Regions from separate parts of the Homo sapiens genome. Here region 1 is linked to region 2. The links are contacts of gene promoters, found by promoter capture Hi-C in human tissues and cell types (Jung and others, 2019). All regions are on one chromosome and are shown on one strand. The core of a region is centred on a gene start or on the middle of the fragment in contact, and the rest is flanking DNA. Distances in the headings are between cores, read along the strand shown.

Evidence for each region. The method cuts DNA at HindIII sites, captures the fragments that hold promoters and counts their contacts. A contact is called where the count stands out against the background at its distance.
Region 1: a contact is called between a fragment that was not itself captured here and the fragment with the promoter of SPATA32 in region 2, in 1 of the 25 tissues and cell types used here (dorsolateral prefrontal cortex).

What each region holds. Positions count from the first base shown.
Region 1 is chr17:45,734,836-45,739,081 of GRCh38, forward strand. All of the region lies in intron 3 of LINC02210-CRHR1 (LINC02210-CRHR1 readthrough), which reads left to right. Among named protein-coding and RNA genes, the nearest start is that of CRHR1, 47 kb to the right of the region's middle. The HindIII fragment of the contact is 5,736 bases long and covers 1-4,246 here.
Region 2 is chr17:45,259,579-45,263,497 of GRCh38, forward strand. It overlaps SPATA32 (spermatogenesis associated 32), which reads right to left and starts at 2,516. Exons shown (of 5, transcript NM_152343.3): 1 at 2,426-2,516. The coding sequence starts at 2,438. It overlaps MAP3K14 (mitogen-activated protein kinase kinase kinase 14), which reads right to left. Exons shown (of 16, transcript NM_003954.5): 16 at 3,541-3,919. All of the region lies in intron 2 of MAP3K14-AS1 (MAP3K14 antisense RNA 1), which reads left to right. RefSeq lists silencers at 2,160-2,279, 2,350-2,399 and enhancers at 2,348-2,953, 2,430-2,519, 2,954-3,557. The HindIII fragment of the contact is 11,872 bases long and covers 1-3,919 here.

The DNA of each region.
Region 1 (4,246 bases), core at 169-2,668, 470 kb after region 2:
GTGATCACACCCAGGCCAATAATTGTTCCAAAATGGCCACTTTACATTTAGATCGCCTAACTAGAATGGGAATGCACAGTGCTTTGCAGAAAACAGTGGTGAAAGTTCATGACTGGCCCGGGCAACTGATATGGTTAGGCTTTGTGTCCCCACCCAAATCTCATCTTGAATTATAATCTCCATAATCCCCACATGTCGAGGGAGAGACCAGGTGGAGATAATTGAATCATGGGGGCAATTCCCCCATGCTGTTCTCGTGATAGTGAGTGAGCTCTCACAAGATCTGATGGTTTTATAAGGGCCTCTTCCCACTTCGCTTGGCACTTCTCCTTCCTGCTGCCTTGTGAAGAAGGTGCCTTGCTTCTCCTTCACCTTCCACCATGATTGTAAGTTTGCCAAGGCTTCCCCAGCTGTGCAGAACCGTGAGTCAATTAAACCTCTTTCCTTTATAAATTACCCAGTCTTGGGCAGTTCTTTATAGCAGTATGAAAACAGACTAATACAGCAACATAGTGAGATGTCATCTCTAACAAATTTAATTAATTTTTAAAGTGGTGAAACGTCCTAGGCAAATGAATAAATATCTTTTACCTTTCAAATCTCAATTCTCTTTCTTTCTAATCATTCCCATCCAATCCTGGAGCACTACACTACTGATATCTTCATTCTGCCATTTCCTGTCCCCTACCCTGGTGTTTAAATCTCTCCACTCTACCTATTGGGCACAGCTGGCCTGATGAATCAACCCAGCCTGCAGGCCTGATGGATTTTCAGAGTTCAAGGAAGTTCTTCCTTTTCCAGCCATCTTAAATGTCTTCCTACCTCTGCCTGCTGTATCAGCAATTTCACTATTGGTGGTTCATTTTTTAGCTTACTATGACTTGTTCCCATTAAAATGCACATCCCTTTGTGAGTATGCACTCACTGTCTGAACAATTATTTATGATTAGTATTAGTGCTTTATCAGCTTTTTTACATTTTGGTGGGGGAAAGGAGGAGAGACTACAGAGGGCTTACTCGTGTTGGAGGGAGGAAGAGAGGCTGTAGAACCTGGAAGCCAATTCTCCTGATTCAATGAGTCTGTTTCAGGTAAGTCCAGGTGATTGTCGGGAAGCCATGGCCATTCTTATTTTATCTTGGAGAAGCAGCAGCGTTTTATCTTTTTTCTGTCTTCAAAGTTTAAATTTTCTTACCTAAAATTTTAAATTTTGAGGTAATTGGGGAATCCTCTACTCAGTTTCCCATGATAGCAACTTGCAAAACTATAATATTACAACCAAGATATTGATGTTAACACAGTCAGGATACAGAACGTTTCTATCACCATGAGGATCTTCATGTTGCCCTTTTATAGCCATATCTACTTCCCTCCCATCCCTATCTTCTCCTTAACTGATGGCAACCACTGATCTGTTATCCATTTCCATAATGTTGTCATTTCCAGAATGTTATATAAATGGAATCATATGTAACTTTGGGGGATTGGCTTTTCTCACTCAGCATAATTCTCTGGAGATTCATCCAGGTTGTTTTGTGTATCAGTAGTTCTTTCTGACTGTATTAATCCATTCTCACACTGCTATAAAGCTACTACCCGAGACTGGGTAATTTATAAACAAATGAGGTTTAATTGACTCACAGTTCCACATGGCTGGGGAGGCCTCAGGAAACTTACAATCTTGGCAGAAGGGGGAGCAGGCACATATTACACGGCAGCAGGTGAGAGACAGTGAGCAAGTGCAGGGAAAACTGTCTTATAAAACCATTAGATCTCGTGAGAACTCACTATCATGAGAGAAGCATAGGGGAAACTGTCCCTGTGATCCAATCACCTCCTACCAGTTCTCTTCCTCAATACCTCGGGATTACAATTTAAGATGAAATTTGGATGGGGACACAAAGCCTAACAGTGTCACTGAGTATTAGATCATGGTAGGATATACCCCAGTTTATTTAATCATTTCTGTGTTGAAGGACAAGTGGATCATTTTCAGTCTGGGGCTAATACAAATAAATAAAGCATCTATAAACATTTATATACAAGTCTTCATTTCTCTGGGATAAATGCCCAGAAGTACAATTGCTGGGTTGTACAGTAGTTGTATGTTTAGTTTTTGAAAGAAACTGCCAAACTGTTTTCCACGGTGCCTGTACCATTTTACATTCCCACCAGCAATGTATGAGTGACTCAGTTTCTCTGAATCCTTGTCAGCATTTAGTATTATTACTGTTTTATGTTAGCCATCCTGATAGGTACATAGTGATTCTCATTGTGATTGTAACTTGCATTCCCTTAATGATGAACAATGAGCATCTTTTTATGTGCTATTTGCCATATGATGTCTTCTTTGGTGAAATATGTCTTTATGTCTCTTACCTATTTTCTAATTGGATTGTTCGTTTTCTGACTGCTGAGTTTTGAGTGTTCTTTATATATTCTACATACTAGTTCTTTGTTGGATATATGGTTTGCAAATATTTTTCCCAGTATGTAGCTTTTTTTCATCTTTTTAATGCTTTTTAATGGGCCTTTCACAAAACAGAAGCTTTTGTGATGAAGTCCAATTTATTAATTTTTCCTTTTATGGGTGATGCTTTGGGTGTTGAACCTAAGAACTCTTTGCATAGACCTACATCCTGAAGACTTCCTCCTGTTTTTTCAGAAGTTTTATAGTTTTATGTTCTACATTTAAGTTAATGATCCATTTTGAGTTAATTTTAGTATAAGGCGTACGTAAGACTTAGAGGCTTTTTTTTTTTTTAGCACCATTTGTTGAAAAGGCTATTTTCCTCCATTGAATTAGTTTTGTACGTTTGTCAAAAATTAGTTGGGCATATTTGTGTGGGTCTATTTCTGGTTTCTCCATTCTGTTCCATTGATGTATATCTCTCTGCCAATAACATACAGTCTTGTAAGTTATCTTGTATCTTGTATGCCAATAACATTCAGTCTTACTGTAGCTATACAGTGATTACTGTAGCTTGATATGAGATGGACTGATTCCTCCCAATTTATTCTTTTTTTTTTCCAAAATTGCTATTCCTATGGTTTGGATGTTTGTCTCATCTAAATCTCATGTTGAAATTTAATTCTCAATGTTGGAGGTGGGGCCTAATGGGTGTTTTGGTCATAGAGGTGGATCTCTCATGAATAGATTAATGGCCTTCTCTGGAGTGAGTGAGTTCTCATTCAATTAATTCCTGTGAGAGCTGGTTGTTAAAAGAGCCTAGCACACCCTCCTTTTCCTCCTCTCTCTCACAATGCCATCTCTGCACACTCTGGCTCCCTTTTGCCTTCTGCTATGAGCAGAAGTAGCCTGAGGCCCTCGTCGGATGCAGATGCCTAATCTTGAACTTGTAGCCATGAGAATCATGAGCCAAATAAACCATTTTTCTTTAAAAATTACCCAGCCTCTAGTATTTCTTTATAGCAACACAAAACAGACTAAGATAGCTATTCTAGTTCCTTTGTCTTTCCACATAAATTTTAGAGTAATATTGTGTATAGCTACAAAAACTTTTGCAAGATTTTAAAAGGAATTGCATTAAACTCATATATCCTTTTGCGGAGTAAGTCAACATCTTTACTATGTTGAATCTTTCAATCCATGAACATAATACATCTCTCCATTTATTTAGCTGTTCTTTGACTTGTTTAATCTTCTTTTTGTAGTTTTCAGCATACAAATCCTGTAGATTTACACTTAAGTATCTCTTCTTTTTCTTTTTGTAGTTGCACATGGTATTGTATTTTTAATTTTGATATCCAGGTGTTCATTTCTAGTACATAGGAATACAACAGATTTTTGTATGTTTATCTCGTATTCTGTGACCTTGCTGAATTCACTTACTAGTACTAATATTTTGTATATCCCTTGGGAACTTCTACAAAAGCAATCATGTTCTTTTCAAATAGGAACAGTTTTTATTTCTTCCTTTTTAATCTGTATGCCTTTTAATTTCTTGCCTTATTGCACTGGCTAAAACTTTCACAGCACTATGTCATATAAAAGTGGTGACAGCAGACATTTTTGCTTTGTTTTCATCTAAGGCAAAAGCATTCAGTCTTTCACCATTAAGTATAATGTTAGCTGTAGGGTTCTCGTTGATGCTTTTCATCAAGTTGAGAAAGTTCTATTCCAATTTTTCTTTGAATTTTATAATGGATGAGTATTGAATTGTTGTTTAATGGGTGTTGACTTTTCAGCATCAATTGATATAATCATGTTAATGTGGTGGACAACTG
Region 2 (3,919 bases), core at 1,266-3,765:
GTTCAGTGGCGCAATTTCAGCAACCTCAACCTCCCTGTCTCAAGTGATCCTTCCACCTCACCTCTGGAGTAGCTGGGACTACACGTGTTCACCACCACCCCCAGCTAATTTTTGTATTTTTTGTAGAGATGGGTCTTGTTATATTGCCCAGGCTGGTCTTGAACTCCTGGGCTCAAGCTATCCACCTGCCGTGGCCTCCCAAAGTGCTAGATTATAGGTGTGAGCTACCATGCCCAGCTATAAATTTATTTTTTAAAATGTTAAATCAGCCTTGCGTTACTGGGATAAACCTCATTTGGTTGTGATATATTACCCTTTTTCTATGTTGTTGAATCTGATTGGCTTTTTTTCAGAATTTTCACATGCATATTCATGAGGGATATCGGTGTATAATTTTCTTTTCTTGTAATGTCTTTGTTAGGTTTTGATAGGGAGGATGGCTTCGGCCCGGGAGGCAGACGTTGCAGTGAGCCGAGATGGTGCCATTGCACTCCAGCCTGGGTGACAGAGCAAGACTCTGTCTCAAAAAAAAAAAAAAAAGGAGATGAGGTCTCAGTATGTTGCCCAGGCTGGTCTCAAACTCCTGAGCTCAAGCGATCTTCCCATCTTGGCCTCCCAGAGTGTTGGGATTACAGGCGTGAGCCACCATGCCTGGCCTAATTTCTTACCTCAAATTCATATCTTGTATGTCCAGACTCTTAAGTGTGGCTGCCACGGTTCTGCCTGTCTGACCCCTGTCTCCCTTTCTAGTCTGTCATCTCTCCATACCCCACTCTCCTCGCCCTATTCATCCTTCATCCTTTCACCCAAATGAGAAACCTGGGTCATTTGTGACTCCTCCTCCCTCCGCAGCTACTGCCCTCCTACCCCTGATGCTGTCCTCATCTCCCAGTACCAGAGCCAGCACACACCCATGACTTCCTACCCTTTGGCACTTGGTGCTGAGTGCTTTGCACATTCAGTCTTCATACCTACCCTATGCCCAGTTGGCCACGGCTCTCCTCTCACAGATGAGGAAACGTGTATGAGGTCATGCAGCTATTAAGAGCAGCACACGACCCAAAGGCAGGTCTGGCTGGCTCCAAACTCTGGGATGCTACTCACTGCACTGTCTTAAATCTCTTTAGTCTTCCAGTGGGACCACTGCAACTATGTCCCCCTCCAACCTGGATTTTCAATGACCTCAGAGTGAGCCTGCTACATCTCACTTGTCTCCGGTTACCCCCAGACTCCATGTGGCCTCTTGGTCTGATCTCTACCTTCATTTTTCATCTCTTGGCATCCAGCTTCCTGTCCCTCACCCTAAGCCGAAGCTACCCCCAGAGTACCGCAGGCCTTTCTGCACCCAGTGCCTTTGCAAATGCTATTTCTTATACCTGGAAAGCCTTCTTCTGGCAAAGTCCTACTCATGCCTGAAAGCCCAATTCAAATAATCAGTGTAATCCTCTCCATGACAGACCTGGCTGTCTAATCTACGTTTTACCTTACAGGCGTGAGCCACTGCACCCGACCTCTGGTTTTTTTTTTTTTTTTTTTGACAGGGTCTTGCTCTGTGGCCCAGGCTGGAGTGGCAGCATCATAGCTCACTGCAACTCCTGGGCTCCAGTGAGCCTCCCAGCTCAGCCTCCCAAGTAGCTGGGACTACAGGCTCATGCCGCCACACCTGTCTAATTTTAAACATTTCCTGTAGAGGACAAAGTCTCGCTATGTTGCCTAGGCTGATCTTGAACTCCTGGCCTCATGTGATCCTCCCACCTCTGCCTCCCGAAGTGTTGGGATTGCAGGCGTTGAGCCATCATGCCCACCTAATTTTTGACCGTTTTTAATGCTGGCCCATGCCCTTCTGGGAGAGAGGATCCCCAAAAGAAAGCCACCATTTCAGTGGGGGATCTGACGCCCCTATGGGAAGGGGAGACACAGGGCACTGGGGGCAAACATCTTTGCTCATTGGTTCAGAGAAGAGTACAAGGCATCAACGAAGCGCTCCGTAAAAATGTGCTGAAGACTGCCGCTCCTCCCTGCAAAGCCTCAAGCATCAAGGAGGGACAACTGGATGTGATTTTTTGGATCTGCAGTTCAGGATAATTCATGAGTCGTTTCCTGTGCACAAGGCCATTGCTCCTTCTGTGGTCTCAGAACCCCTTCAAGAACCACTGACTCTGCAGTCCCTACTCCAAGGCGCGCATGCGTGTCCGTGAGAGCACATGGGTGTGCACCGCGCAGGGGCTGAGGCTGGGAGCCGTAGTCAGGGGCACCGGGTGGGCTTTGGCGGCGGGTCGACCTGCCTTTCAGGTGCCGGGGGTTTGGGAGCAGGGGAACGGGCCCTGGGCGGATTCCTGACCGCCCCCTTCGCGCCCCTCCCCCTCTCACTTTCGCTTTCCCCGCCTGCCCCAACCCTCGCCCCCGGGCGCTCGGCCGCTCCCACCTGTCACCCCCATGCAGACCGAGGCTCTGTCCTGGAGGCGGGGAGCGGGCTGGTGGATGCTGCCTCTCCGCCTCCAGTGTGCTCTTTGGCTGAGGGACTGGTGGGCGCTGGAAATATTAGAGGCGCCGGTGCCTGTGATGTCGCCGCCTCTGTGACGTCCCCGCCGCGACCCCACAGGCAGGGAGCCGCATTTAGGTTTCGGGCGGGCGGACGGGGGACGGCCCGAGTGAGGCGTCCTCCGAAGGCTGCGGGCCCGAAGCCAGAACTCCTTCCTCTCCGAAGACCTCGGGGGTGGGGCTCGCGCTTCCGCAGCGGGCCTAGAGCGAGAGGCAGGCGGCAGGTAAGCCTGGCTGTGCTGGACAGGACTTGCACCCGCTCTGCACGCCAGCGGCTCAGGGCTGCCGCCCTTTTCGTGGTCCCAGGGCCCTTCCAAGAACCGGCTAAACCAACCCAAGCCGCGCGCACACACACTTGTGCACACAGGGAGTGTGGAGCCAGATTCGATAAGGCACCCCGTGTGCCCCAGCTCCATGACCAAGGAACTCAGCACCCCGTGTGCCCCAGCTCCATGACCAAGGAACTCAGCACCCCGTGTGCCCCAGCTCCATGACCAAGGAACTCAGCCCACAAAGGCATCCCTGGCCCCATGCAGGGCTCAGGAGGCAGCGGAAAGGGTTAAGAGTCCAGGCCTCAAGGACAGGAGGGGAGGGTGGAGGGCCTGTGGTGTGCATCCGGCATCCCTGGATGGTCAGGGCCCAGAACCCATCCCTATTTCCCTTCTGGTGGTAGGGGGCTGCCTAACTTGGGCAGTGGCACAAAGCATGCAGGCTTTGTTGTCCTCCTCCTCCACCCCTCAGCCTGGCATATTTTGGCGAGGGACTTCCCTGATGCCACCGGGCAAGGTATCTTGCCTAACTGGTCTGAATGACTAGCCCAGCGTTGGGACTAGAAGCAGCCACTGGGAGGAGTGGTGGGAAAGCAGCCCCACTCAAGGGCTGAAACAGTCCTTGTCCAAAACAAGGGGGACTTGAAAAGATCTCAGCAAGAAGGCAAAGAGAGGCAGCTGTTAGGGTCGTGAGGTTCAGCAGGCCGGCAGGCAAGAGAGAGGACACCGATGGCCTGGAAACATTTGTCATCACCCCAAACTTTATTGCTTACAAAGAGTTCTCTACAACCCAGACTCTGCAGTACCAAGGCTGCAGTTCTTTATGTGCTGGGGGCCGGGGCTCTCTCCCCGGGAGCAGTCTGACTCAATGTGGACAGCTGGACAAAGGCTGTCTTGGCAAGATGTGGGAATGAGCTTCTCCCACGGAGTCTCGGCGTCCCCTGCCCCAGGAGGTTGAGGCTAGCAGACACCCCCTGACGATTCACAGCTGATTTAATGCTACGTGAGTCCTGAGTAGCTCCCCTGGGAGAAGAGGCTAAGCTGGGGCAATGGGGAAGGGGGTGCTATTCTTAGAGAAATCTGGAAGAGGTTTGAGGAGTCACATGCAT